Regions from separate parts of the Homo sapiens genome. Here all the other regions are linked to region 1. Evidence: promoter capture Hi-C in 16 types of primary human blood cells and fetal thymus (Javierre and others, 2016). All regions are on one chromosome and are shown on one strand. Each heading gives the region's core, a stretch centred on a gene start or on the middle of the fragment in contact. The rest is flanking DNA. Distances are from core to core; before and after follow the strand shown.

What was found. The method cuts DNA at HindIII sites, captures the fragments that hold promoters and counts their contacts. A CHiCAGO score of 5 or more calls a contact.
Region 2: a contact is called between a fragment that was not itself captured here and the fragment with the promoter of FBF1 in region 1, in 1 of 17 cell types (M0 macrophages). The highest score is 5.2, in M0 macrophages.
Region 3: a contact is called between a fragment that was not itself captured here and the fragment with the promoter of FBF1 in region 1, in 4 of 17 cell types (M2 macrophages, activated CD4 T cells, total CD4 T cells and 1 more). The highest score is 5.8, in M2 macrophages.
Region 4: a fragment that was not itself captured here is called in contact with the fragment with the promoter of FBF1 in region 1 in 7 of 17 cell types (endothelial precursors, M0 macrophages, naive CD8 T cells and 4 more); the score reaches 6.3 in endothelial precursors.
Region 5: a fragment that was not itself captured here is called in contact with the fragment with the promoter of FBF1 in region 1 in 1 of 17 cell types (endothelial precursors); the score reaches 5.9 in endothelial precursors.

What each region holds. Positions count from the first base shown.
Region 1 is chr17:75,939,755-75,942,355 of GRCh38, reverse strand. FBF1 (Fas binding factor 1) reads left to right here and starts at 1,314. Exons shown (of 30, transcript NM_001319193.2): 1 at 1,314-1,508. It overlaps ACOX1 (acyl-CoA oxidase 1), which reads left to right. Exons shown (of 14, transcript NM_004035.7): 14 at 1-849. RefSeq lists an enhancer at 1,096-1,165 and a silencer at 1,276-1,545. The HindIII fragment of the contact is 5,734 bases long and covers 1,078-2,601 here.
Region 2 is chr17:76,351,345-76,353,945 of GRCh38, reverse strand. It overlaps PRPSAP1 (phosphoribosyl pyrophosphate synthetase associated protein 1), which reads left to right and starts at 30. Exons shown (of 10, transcript NM_002766.3): 1 at 30-412. The coding sequence starts at 243. RefSeq lists enhancers at 1-64, 914-973, 2,513-2,601 and a silencer at 234-553. The HindIII fragment of the contact is 1,470 bases long and covers 553-2,022 here.
Region 3 is chr17:76,330,562-76,333,162 of GRCh38, reverse strand. It overlaps PRPSAP1 (phosphoribosyl pyrophosphate synthetase associated protein 1), which reads left to right. Exons shown (of 10, transcript NM_002766.3): 4 at 728-900; 5 at 2,497-2,601. Among named protein-coding and RNA genes, the nearest start is that of PRPSAP1, 22 kb to the left of the region's middle. The HindIII fragment of the contact is 1,467 bases long and covers 573-2,039 here.
Region 4 is chr17:76,288,368-76,290,968 of GRCh38, reverse strand. QRICH2 (glutamine rich 2) reads left to right here. Exons shown (of 19, transcript NM_001388453.1): 5 at 892-977. Among named protein-coding and RNA genes, the nearest start is that of QRICH2, 19 kb to the left of the region's middle. The HindIII fragment of the contact is 4,189 bases long and covers 1-2,601 here.
Region 5 is chr17:76,200,752-76,203,352 of GRCh38, reverse strand. The region is part of intron 2 of RNF157 (ring finger protein 157); the gene reads left to right. It also overlaps the pseudogene ATP5MGP6. Among named protein-coding and RNA genes, the nearest start is that of RNF157, 38 kb to the left of the region's middle. The HindIII fragment of the contact is 1,105 bases long and covers 749-1,853 here.

The DNA.
Region 1 (2,601 bases), core at 65-2,564:
CGGGTTCAAGCAATTCTCTGCCTCAGCCTCCTGAGAAGCTGGGATTACAGCGCCTGCCACCATGCCTGTCTAGTTTTTTTGTATTTTTAGTAGAGACAGGGGTTTCACCAAGTTGGCCAGGCTGGTCTTGAACTCCTGACCTCGTGATCCACCCACCTCGGCCTCCCAAAGTGCTGGGATTACAGGCGTGAGCCACCGTGCCGGGCCAGTGTTTTTAACTGTCCACACTTACTAAATTTTCCAGTACTTCTTCCTATGGTTCATGATAGTAAACACAGAAACATATAAGGAACATTATTAGAGTTACCAGATGTTAGCTGTTGCATATGTGCACATTCCTAGATTCAAGGGTGTTTTTGCCTTAAATTTAAGTGGGTCATTGGTTGTCTTGGGAAGATCATGGAAAATTCGGGATTTTTTAGAATTCTGAACCAAAATATGTTTTGAGTGTTTCTTAGTAAATGTGTGATCTTCCACCTTCCACATTCAGACTGCGGACTACACTTCATAAATGCCTTTTTATTTCCAGTTATGGATTCAACTAAATGACTGCCTTGGGAGCACATAATTACTTTGCTACCTTTTTCCCCCTTTGCTGTTGTGGCTCGAGTTTGGTTCTCACCTGAGAAGATGCATTGAGCATATGTTGTTACCCAGCCCTGGCTTAATGGTGTCCTGTGGGGTAGGGGTGGGAGGACGAGGGGCACGGGGCCAGAGCATGTGAATGGATCATGGTTGGACAGCTGTGACCTGCCAGCACTGCGGGTAAGCAAAACTACAAACCGTTCTTTCCTCTGTGACATTGAATAAACCTTAATAAAATTCATAATTAGCACATACTAGAAAAAATGTGACTTAATCTTTTTGTGGGGCGACAGTATTGGGTTTCATTCTGGCTATACAGCTTTGATTGGATCATTAAACAGGTCAGTCACTTCCCTCAAGCTTTGGGGTGTGGAATAAACACCGGTGAATTTGTGGATTCACCCGTCAACCTCCCAATATCAACACATTTCTCACGCCTCCGCGTCGGCCACGTGTCAGCCCTCAGAAGTGGGCAGGAGGAACTTTTAAGCTTCCCGGCAGTTCCCAAGAGGGCCTTTGAGCCTGGCGCCCTCTTCCCGGAGAGGCGTTGGGGCAGCTCCTAGCAACGTGCCCGCCGCCGGCAGAAGCCCGGCCCCGCCAACTGCCGCGCGCGGCTCCCTGGGAGCTGTAGTTCTTCATGGCGTCCCCACCTCCTCTGTGAGGGCGGGTGAGTCGACCGCCGACTGCGACTCCCAGGATGCCTCGCGCCCGCCTTTCCGCGGGAGGCCAGACGGCTGAGGGTGCCGGCAGCGGCTGGAAGCGGGAGGCCAGTCCTGGCCGGGCTGGGCGACCCGAATGGAGCCAGGGCCGGCGCTGGTCCCAGCGGCCGCACCTCCGGGGGCACGGCGCGTAACAGGAGGCTTCCGGGGCTGAGAGCGTTACAGGCTGCGCTCCGGGGCCAGATAGGCCGGGCGCTCAGAAGGGTGACGCATTGAGGGGCGCGGAGTCTCGGGACGGAGGGGCGACTCCGGCTAGGGGTCTTGCTTAGGGGTGGTCTCGGGATCTGTAAAACGCCTGGCATGGAGTCGGCTGAATACATGTGGGGACGGGGTTACTCTGTAGCCCTTTGGCCTTGGCAAACCAAGCCTAGAAAATCCCCATAGTCTGAGAAGCCCGTACAGGATCGATAGGAGATGCCAGAAGTTCCTTGATGTGTTATGGGACACATTTGGACTTGTAGGTCGTGAAGTCGCCATTGCAGAGAAAAAGAAACAAGGCCGGGCACGGTGGCTCACGCCTGTAATCCCGACACTTTGGGAGGCCAAGGCGGGAGGATCACTTGAGGCCAGGCGTCTGGGACGACCCTGGGCAACATAGGGAGACCCCCGTCTCTACAAAAAAAATTTTAAAATTTGCCGCACATGGTGGCGTGTGCCTGTGGTCCCAGCTGCTAGGGAGGCTGACATTGGAGGATCGCCTGAGCCCAAGGAGGTCGAGGCTGCAGTAAGCTATGAGAGCTGTGATCGTGCCACTGCACTCCAGCCTGGGCAACAGAGCGAGACCCTGTCTGGAAAAAAAAAAAAGAAAGAAGGCCAGGCGTGGTGGCTCACACCTGTAATCCTAGCACTTTGGGAGGCCGAGACGGGCAGATCACGAGGTCAGGAGTTCGAGACCTCCTGGCCAACAGTGAAACCCCGTCTCTACTAAAAATACAAAAATTAACCGGGCATGGTGGCATGTGCCTGTATTCCCAGCTACTCGGGAGGCTGAGGCAGGAGATTCGCTTGAACCCGGGAGGCTGAGGTTGTGGTGAGCCAAGATCGCACCACTGCACTCCATCCTGGGCAACAGAGCAAGACTCCGTCTAAAAAAAGAAAAAAAAGAAAACACATGTATTCAGGGTGGGCTCTGTAGGTAAGCCCAGATAACCCTTGCATTCCAATAACAGGACAGGCCAATACTTGGGACATAAAGAGGACCCCTCTGACTCCTTTCTTCCAGGACATCCTGTAGGTGGGTTTTGGTAAAGTGGAGGAGGGGGAGGGAGACAGCTAATTCCGAGGAAAATGTTCTCAA
Region 2 (2,601 bases), core at 38-2,537, 410 kb before region 1:
TTCGGATGCCCGGAGGGGGCGGTGGCCTTGCCTCTGGCTCTGAGGCGGCGGCGCCGGGCGCTGCGAAGGCTCGGCCGCTGTAGTCAGTGGTGTGGGGTGCGCAAGGGCACGGACCTCGGAGCTCTCCCCGCTTGCGCCGAGTTTCTCAGCGCCTTCCCCACCCAAACCGGGGTCTCGCAGTCGGAAGCACTCAGAGTGCAGCCCCGCGCGGGGCCGGTCGTAACCGCGCCGCGGGCCGGACGATGCCCAAGAAGCTGCTGCTGTTGCCCCCGCCCTCCGCGTCCTCGGCTTTCCGCGTCCCGCGCGCCCGCCCCGTTCCCCCGCCGGCCATGAACGCCGCTCGCACCGGCTACCGAGTCTTCTCGGCCAACTCCACGGCCGCCTGCACGGAGCTGGCCAAGCGCATCACAGAGTAAGGGGGCGGTGGGAGGGCCGGGCCGGGGGCGGCGGCGCCTAGCTCTCCTTCGCGCCCGGAGGGACCCGCTCCCCTCCACCCGCCCCACCTCCTGCACCTGGGGCGGGAGGCGCGGGCCTTCCCAGCCGGACAAAGCTTGGAGGTGACGGATACCGCCCCCCGCTCCCCGGTTTTGCAGCTGGGAGGCTTGGGGCGGACTCTCGGTGACCTCAGCCCCCCGCCCCGTGACTGGGTCCGCGGCCTGCCTGCCTTTCGTCTCCGCAGTCCCACACCCCGGGGCGGGCCGAGCTTTCTGGAGCCCCGGAGTGCGTGTCTTGGGGAAAGGGGCTCAGGGCTTGGCTTCCTTTCCCACGGCTGGAGTTGACCTGGGAATCTGACCGCCGCCACTCTCAAGTCTCACTGCAGTGAGACCCGCGGGCGTGGTTGTGAGTTGGGGGATCCGACGCGGCAGGTGCGGTCGCAGAGCAAAGGTGTGGGGACTGGCAGTGCGAAGAAGGCAATTCCAGGGAGGCAGATGGGCCGGAGCTGGTGGTAGAAATGACAGGCCTGACCCTGCTTTGTAAATCAGCTTGGGATAAGATCAGTCATTTGTGTCTTTAACCCAACCAAGCCCCTGGTCTTAAGTCGCCTTTGGGGTCTGACAGCTCTGAGATGCCCTCCCAGCCTTGCCACTTACTAGCTCTGTGTCAGTGGGCAAGAGACTTGATTTCCCTGAACCTCATCTGTGAAATGGGCATGGTTGAGAATATTGTATGATCGGGATAATGTAGAAGTAGTATCTGGTTCTAGCAGAGTAGGGGCTCATAGTGGCCCTCTGAATAGTTGTTTACTAAGTGGCCTCTTTTCTTTTTCTTTTTCTTTTCTTTTTTTTTTTTTTTTTTTTTTTGAGACGGAGTCTCGCTCTGTCACCCAGGCTGGAGTGCAGTGGCGAGATCTCGGCTCACTGCAAGCTCCGCCTCCCGGGTTCACGCCATTGTCCTGCCCCAGCCTCCCAAGTAGCTGGGACTACAGGCACCCGCCACCACACCCGGCTCATTTTTTGTATTTTTAGTAGAGACTGGGTTTCACCGTGTTAGCCAGGATGGTTTCGATCTTCTGACCTCGTGATCCGCCCGCCTCGGCCTCCCAAAGTGCTGGGATTACAGGCTTCAGCCACCGCGCCCGGTGAAATGGCCTCTTTTCTAGTTGGCTCTTTTGGAGAATCCCAGAGCTCTGATATAAAGGAGGAGCCTTATATGCCCTTTCTACATACACTTGTTAGAAATCTAAGACATAAAATGAATAGCTCGTCTTTTAATATTTAAAGCCATTTTCACATTTTAAACAGTTTTCATAGAGTTACTTCGTTACTTTTTTAGGGTTGACAAATGATTGCAGGGATATATCTTAAACTTCTGGGGGGAAATGTAGAAGAAAGGGAAAACTTTAGTCATTTTTTTTTCAGCTCTGCTTGTTTTTTTTTTTAATAGTTGGAGTTTTGGAGAGTGGAAGAATGTTAAAAAAACAAATCAATCCTTTTGCAGTCTACTACCTAGTTTCTATTTCTAACCCCTGATTGTTTGTCTTTCTTTCTGAGGCCAACGAAAACACTGACTTTAAACGAAGCTTCTGTGTGTATCTAGTGGTTCAGATTTACCCTACCTGACCTTGAGGGAGAGCAGAGGGGAGCAGGGCACATTTTAAAAGTCAGTGAGGGTTTTTTTTGTTTGTTTGTTTTAGATTCTTTCCTGGCAAATTCCCGAAAGATTTTGAATTACTATAAATGATACATATTCATAAATACTTCCCTTACCTGTTTTACTTGTCGCTCAGTAAGATTTTGTTTTATCTTATCTGTTTTATTTATTTTGAGACAGTCTTGTGTCACCCAGGCTGGAGTGCAGTGGTGCCATCTCGGCTTACTGCAACCTCCACGTCCCAAGTTCAAGCGATTCTCCTGCCTCAGCCTCGAAAGTAGCTGGGATCACAGATGCCCGACACCACACCTGGCTAGTTTTTTGTTTTTTGTTTTTTGTTTTGAGACGGAGTCTCGCTGTCGCCCAGGCTGGAGTGCAGTGGCGCGATCTCGGCTCACTGCAGGCTACGCCCCCAGGGTTCACGCCATTCTCCTGCCTCAGCCTTCCGAGTAGCTGGGACTACAGGCCCCCGCCACCTCGCACAGCTAATTTTTTGTATTTTTAGTAGAG
Region 3 (2,601 bases), core at 57-2,556, 390 kb before region 1:
GTCCAGCCTGGGCGACAGAGTGAGACTTCATCTCAAAAGGTCAGGAGATGAAGACCATCCTGGCTAACATGGTGAAACCCCGTCTCTACTAAAAATACAAAAAATTAGCCGGGCGAGGTGGCGGGCGCCTGTAGTCCCAGCTACTCGGGAGGCTGAGGCAGGAGAATGGCGTGAACCTCGGGGGGCGGAGCCTGCAGTGAGCTGAGATCGCGCCACTGCACTCCAACCTGGGCGACAGCGAGACTCCGTCTCAAAAAAAAAAAAAAAAAATTATATTCCAAGACCTCCCCACACTCAATGGAAAGAGACCAAATCTTTCTGTTAATGGCAGCTAAATGGAAGGGCAGTTGGGTTTCCCTTGGCATTCAAGCTGGCCTAAGCCCAAATCCCTGGGAGGCTGCCAGCAGGTGTTGGGTAACTCTGGTCACCAGCAGTTGCTTCAGATGTCACTGCAGTAACGGGGTATGACACAGGAGACCCAGGCAAATGTGAGGGTGGGTTAACTGTGCTGTGAATAGGAGTAACCTCAGATGAAAGCTAGGGCTTACTCAGCTACAAAAAGTCAGAAAGCTTCCCCTGCCTTCATGAGGTGCCATTGTAAGCTAGTGTGATGGTAAAATTCCCACAACACCCATCTGGGCAGCCCATGTTAAGTTGATAAAGTCAAGATCTTTTCTAGGGTTGATACATGGAATTAATCCCCAAATACAAACTTTGACTGTTTCAGAGATGTGAATACAGCTGTGATGGAGTTGCTCATCATGGCTTACGCACTGAAGACTGCCTGTGCCAGGAACATTATTGGGGTCATCCCCTACTTCCCCTACAGCAAGCAGAGCAAGATGAGGAAGAGGGGTTCCATTGTGTGCAAGCTGCTAGCATCCATGCTGGCGAAAGCAGGTGAGTGTGCGCGGGGGCCCTGGGGTTCCAGCATGATCCTTTAGGGCTCTTTCCTAGTTGGACTTAGCTCATACCTCAGATATCCAATCTGGGATCTGAGTGTTTGTTTCCTTTTGAACAGTTTTGGCTAAGGATATGTGAGCTCGGTTAGAAATTCTTTTTTTTCCCTTATTCGCTTTGTCCTACTTTAGAATACCATTGCTTTAGTGTCTTCTCTTCTCTGTCATCTGTCACATATTTTCTATTTCATCTTGTCATCGCTAAATTCTTAGCTGGCAGTCTTGGCATTCTTATGTGATCTTTTGATCTTCAGGTCTAGATTTCTATATCTGCTTTGTTAGCTAAATTCCATTTTTGTTCATAGTATTCAAGCTGGATTTTCTTTTACTCCCTCTCCCCCACCCTTGCCTTTCTACATAGTGGCTCATTTTCATTGCTTTATTCTCCTTGTGTGGCGGGGGCACGCTTTCTGGCCTGTAAATCAATGTAATATTTTACAATTGGGTTTCTATTCATCTGATGTCTGTTCTAAAACTTTAACGTATATTTGGGTCCTCGGAAAGAAATGTATGGTCCTCCCTCAATGTCCTTATAGGATTGGTTCCAGGAACCCATCTCCCGCTTCCCCGGCTCCTCAGCAGATACAAAAACCCAAAGATACTCAAGTCTTCCATATAAAATGCCATAGTATTTGCATATAACCAACACAGTCATCTGTAGATTATTTATAAATACCTAATACCATATAAACACTATATAAATTGTTGTTATGCTGTCTTGTTTAGGGAATAATGATGAGAAAAAAGTTTCATACCTGCTCAGTACAGACACAACCATTGTAGGCCTAACTACCTTTTCAGTCTGTGTTTCGTTGAATCCACACGTGGAACCCATAGATCCAGATGGTCAACTGTATGTGAATTTCATCCTCTCCAAAAAACTATAGTGTTTCTGGAAAGAACAAGTAATACTGGTTCTACACCCTGGAAGTTTTGCTGTGACCTTTGACCATTTGCAATGTGTTTATATATATGTACCTTTTCCTCTTCAGTACTCTTGATTATAAGAGTATCTCTTCATTGTTTTTCTATAAGAATACTTGAAACATTCTTTGTTACATACAGAAATTATTCTAAGCTTCAATATCTTTGTGTTATATGAGTTTCTTTTCTTCTAATATGTATATTACTTTGCGTTTGTGTTCTTGCTACTTTTTGCCTTCGCTACAGTTCTTTATCCTTTCTTTTAAGATTCTGTAATCAAGGCCTTACTGTTTTTTCCATCTCTTCGGTATTAATTCCATATTCATATTTTTGCTTCTGCCACATTATTCTTTTCTCAATTTTCTGGACCAAGCCAAAAGTCAATAATTCCCACTTTCTTAGCTTTAGTTCTTTGTCCATGTGGAAGGTTGTAGCCTTCTCTACATTAAGGCTTTATTAAGGTTAACAATCAAGCCTGTGACTGCAGTGCTTAATCACAGTACCCCGTCTTCAGTCTGCTGGTAGGAAGCAGGAGTTGAGCATCTAGTTTAGGTCCACTGTAGCCATTTACCTGTAGGGGTGAACTTTGTAATTTTTTGTTTTAAAATTTCAGGTTTAACTCACATTATCACTATGGATCTTCATCAAAAGGAAATACAAGGCTTTTTCAGCTTTCCTGTGGACAACCTTAGAGCCTCACCTTTCCTGCTTCAGTATA
Region 4 (2,601 bases), core at 51-2,550, 350 kb before region 1:
AGTTGGTTTCATCCTTTTCTTCCCCTGGCCTCAACTCCTGGCTGCTACACATCTCCCTGAGTCCCTGAAAACAGCATGTCATTCAGAGCATGTCCCACAGCCTTCAGAGTCCAAAAAAATGGGTGGGCAAAGGAGAGAACTAAGCCCCAGGAGAGGAGTGGAGCGGGTTCTTGTGGCTTTGTCAGGCTCTCTGCACAGCAGTGGGGGAAAGTGTCTGGTTATAGAGAGCAGTAGCATTGGGAGGTGGGCGGGAGAGAATGTTGAAGAATTAAACTTAACATTTTGACTGGGAGCAATGGCTCACACCTGTAATCCCAGCACCTTGGGAAGCAGAGCTGGGTGGATAGCTTGAGGCCGAGTTCGAGACCAGCCTAGGCAATGTGGCAAAACTCTATCTCTACCAAAAAAAACAAAAAAAAAATTAGCCAGGCGTGGTGGCACACACCTGTAGTCCCAGCTACTTGGGAAGCTGAGGTGGGAAGATTGTTGGAGCCAGGGAGGCAGAGGTTGCAGTGAGCTGTGATGGATCACTGCACTCCAGCCTGGGTGACAGAGCAAGACCCTGTCTCAAACAAAACAAAACTTAACATTTGCCTGTTCCCAACTCCAAGCCCAGAGAGTAATTAAGATTTTTTGCAGTGGTTGGAATTCGGGAGTCAGTTGTCCCAAAGCCCTTTAGGATGTCAGGCATTAGGTGGATGTTTCATGGGCTAAGGACAGCTCTCTCTCCCTTCTTCCCACCTCCCTTTCCCAGTCACCAGGAGACACAGGATAAAGTAATAGGTCCTGCTGTCCTCTAGGGTAGCTTCAGTGTTACAGGGGCTGGAAATGGAGATTGGGAGCCCACTAGAGATCTAACCCCTCTGATCATAAGGCTTCTGCTTTCCATAGTCAAAAGGACCATACCTCCTGAACTGCAGGAGCAGCTGAAGACCGTAAAGACGCTAGCCAAAGAAGTTTGGCAGGAGAAAGCAAAAGTAAGGAAGAGTCAACCCACTTTGTCTTTTTTTTTTTTTTGAGATGGAGTTTTGCTCTTGTCGCCCTGGCTGGAGTGCAGTGGCACCATCTCAGCTCACTCAACCTCCACCTCCCAGGTTCAAGCGATTCTCATGCCTCAGCCTCCCGAGTAGCTGGGATTACAGGCATGTGCCACCATGCCCGGCTAATTTTGTATTATTATTTGTATTATTATTAGTAGAGATGGGGTTTCTCCATGTTGGTCAGCCTGGTCTTGAACTCCCAACCTCAGATGATCTGCCTACCTTGACCTCCCAAAGTGCTGGGATTACAGGCGTGAGCCACCGTGCCCAGCCCCCACTTTGTCTTTTAATGCTAATAATAGCACTTTCCATTTGTATTTTACGGATTAAATAGCTCTTTCTTTTACATTATTATCTAATTGGATCTTTGCAATCTTATCAGATAGGAACTGCACCTTGGGTATCATCGTGTTCATTTCCTGGATCTAAAACCTGATGCTCAGGCTGGGCACGCTGGCTCATGCCTATAATCCCAGCACTTTGGGAGGCCAAGGCAGGAGGATCACTTGAGCCCGGGAGCTCGAGACCAGCCTGGGCAACATAGCAAGGACTTATCTCTACAAAAAATTTAAAAATTAGCCAGACATGGTGGTGCATGCCTGTAGTCTCAGCTACTTGGGAGGCTGAGGCAGGAGGATCACTTGAGCCTGAGTTTGAGGCTGCAGTAAGCTATGATCACGCCATGGCACTCTAGCCTGAGTGACAGGGCAAGACCCTGTCTCTAAAAAAATTTTTTTTAAAAACTGATGCTCAAAGCTATTATGATTCAGCTGAGCCAAATAATGAGGGCTTTGCTCTTTTCTTTTTTTCTTTTTTTTTTTTTTTGAGACACAGTCTCACTCTGTCGCCAAGGCTGGAGTACAGTGGCGCAATCTCGGCTCACTGCAAGCTCCACCTCCCAGGTTCACGCCATTTTCCTGCCTCAGCCTCCCAAGTAGCTGGGACTACAGGTGCTCGCCACCACGCCCGGCTAATTTTTTGTATTTTTAGTAGAGATGGGGTTTCACCGTGTTAGCCAGGATGGTCTCGATTTCCTGACCTTGTGATCTGCCTGCCTCGGCCTCCCAAAGTGCTGGGATTACAGGCGTGAGCCACCACACCCGGCCTTGCTCTTTTCATTATCTGTGGCAGCCTTGGAGTCCAGTTTGTGGATTTTCTGGGGCCAGAGGTCATTGCAAGGGACGGCCAGATCCCTTCAGACATTCTCCTTTTTTTTTTTAAATTGAGACGGAGTCTCGCTCTGTTGCCCAGGCTAGAGTGCAATGATGCGATCTCGGCTCACTGCAACCTCTGCCCCCTGGGTTCAAGCTATTCTCATGCCTCAGCCTCCCAAGTAGCTGGGATTACAGGCATGCATGTTCATGCCCAGCTAATTTTAGTATTTTTAGTAGAGACAGGGTTTCACCATGTTGGTCAGGCTTGTCTGGAACTCCTGACCTCAGGTGATCCTCCCACCTCAGCCTCCCAAAGTGCTGGGATTACAGGTGTGATCCACCACGCCCGGCCCAGTCATTCCTTTTTTTTTTTTTTTTTTTTTTTTTTTTTAAGACTGATTCTTGCT
Region 5 (2,601 bases), core at 52-2,551, 260 kb before region 1:
GTCTCAATTTCCCCATCTATAAAATTACCTTGCAGGAATATTTTAAGGACTCAAAAAATGATGGCGGGACCTGATGGCTGACGCCTGTAGTCGCAGCATTTTGGGAGACTGAGGTGGGTGGATTGCTTGAGGCCAGGAGTTTGAGACCAGCCTGGCCAACATGGCGAAACCCTGTCTCTACTAAAAATACAAAAATTAGCCAGGCATGGTGGTGCATGCCTGTAATCCCAGCCGCTTGGGAGGCTGAGGCATAAGAATCGCTTGAACCCAGAAGGCGGAGGTTGCAGCGAGCGGAGATCATGCCACTGCACTCCAGCCTGGGCTGGACGAGACCCTCTCTCAAAAAAAAAGATAACTATTACAATCTAATTTGCATTTTAGAAAATTAATTCTATAAATTAATTCACAGTATAGGTAATGAATCAGAGAGACAGAAAATAAGAAGACCAGTTAGGAAGTAATTTATTTTAAGAAAAAATACATGAAATAACTGAATAGGATTAACAGCATTGCAAATAAACATGGTGCAGACTTTCTACCCTAGAACCATGGACCAATTTATAACCTTGCAGAGAAGGCCCCAGGGCTGATGATCATTGTTGTGACTTGTTTGAAGCCTCGATTGGCCACTTTTTGGTACTATGCCAAGGCTGAGCTGCTTCCTCCAACCCCTGGTGAGATCCCTAGAACTATTCAGAGCCTGAAAAAAAAAATAGTAGCGCTCTAATAGCTCACAGTTAAGGAAGCTTTGCTGAATGATGTGGTCCACACATGAGGTGTGGACGTGATTTTATGTCAGAGAGCTCACAGGCAAGTGTGGCATCATTGCTGTAATCTTTGAAGACCCATCTTTAACATCTGATTACATTTGATTTATGACTTGTGTGTTCTTGGACCATGTGTGATCAGACTAAAATGTGTCTAAAAAACAGAAAATAAAATGAATGCAGTGCAGATTAGAGAATTGCAGCAGTGTGAGTTGAGGCAAAGGACACTCCAAGGAACAGCCTCTGTGAGAGGCCACCACTTACCCCAGATGCTGTGCACGTGTTATGTTTGGAGATTTATTTGTGCCTTGGACTTGGAGTAACTGGCCTAATAGGTCACATCACAAGGACCTGGCACTTAACTGCCCTACAGGCCTAAAGCCCATGGTGGGAACGGGTGTCTTTCTCATGCACGTGTGTGTGTGTGTGTGTGTGTGTGTGTGTGTGTGTGTGTGTGAGAGAGAGAGAGAGAGAAACTGAGATTGGGTTATTTGCCTTTTGCATGCTATCTTCTTTCCTTCTTCCTTCCTTTATAATTTTACTACAATTTTTTTTTGTCCTTTAGCCTGGAAATATTGATTAAATTTTGAGCTGTGCGTACCCTTTGGCCCAACTGTTTCACCTCTCCGAATCTCTCCTACAGAAATATTTTGAAGAGTGTGAAATGATTCCTATTTACAATGTATATTGTAGCATTACTTGTAGTAGTGCAAAATTAGAAAATATCTAATGGCCATTATAGTGGAATGGTTAAATAAATTATAATGTGCCTATGCCATGAACTGTTATTCAGCAAAAATTAGATAGATCTGCGTCCACTGAGATGGCAATATGTCCACAACCACATGACTTACTGAATAAAGCAAGTTGCAGTGTATAATGTAGAGTCTGATTTCATTTCGGATAAAAATAATATATGTATGTGTGTGCATTATGTACATATATTTATAGCTACACAAATATACTATTACAATGCATTTTGAACTGTTAACAATGGTAACTCTTGGGATATATCAAGAAGGGGGGTATTCACTTCTTAATTCATATTTTCTAAAATTTTCTTTATTTTTTTTTTAGAAATAAGCTTGTTCTGTCACCCAAGCTGGAGTGCAGTGGTGCAATCATAGCTCACTGTAACCTGGAACTCCTGGGCTCAAGCAGTCCTCCTGCCTCAGCCTTCCTGGTAGCTGGGACTACAGATACATGACACCATGCACAGCTAATTTAAAATTTTTTCTTTTTCTCTTTTTTTTTTTTTTTTTGTAGAGACTAGGGTCTCACTATGTTGCCAAGGCTGGTCTTGAACTCTTGGGCTCAAACAATCCTCCTGCCTCAGCCTCCCAAAGTGCTGGGATTACAGGTGTGAGCCACTGTGCCCGGCTCTTCATATTCTTCTATGTTGTTTGAATTTTTTCCAGTGAACGTGTTTTCATTTTTAAATGAAAAGTATTTTAATTTTCTTTAAAAATAGAGGTGGAAATACTTCTAAGTAGAGGAAGGAAATAGGTTTAGAAGAATATTTAGAAGTAGGAAAATTAAGGGAGTTCACAAAATAATGGTTTTAATTTTTTAGTGAACTACAGGAAAGGTAGGGTCTGCTCGCTGGGGTTGGGATGTGTGCCAGGAAGTGTCTGGGGGCTTGCGGAGAAAGACAGAAAACCAGAGTAAGCATGGGGAGGAGGAGAGTCAGGGAGCTCGGTCCTCTTGGTGCCAACATGCAGTAATTCACCTTTAGAAACAGTTGATTCGAAATGGTATGAGATTCAGTATGGAAGTGGCCTGCTTTTCAGCAACCTGACAGTAAAAGAACTAGAGGATGAATATTCATACTTTT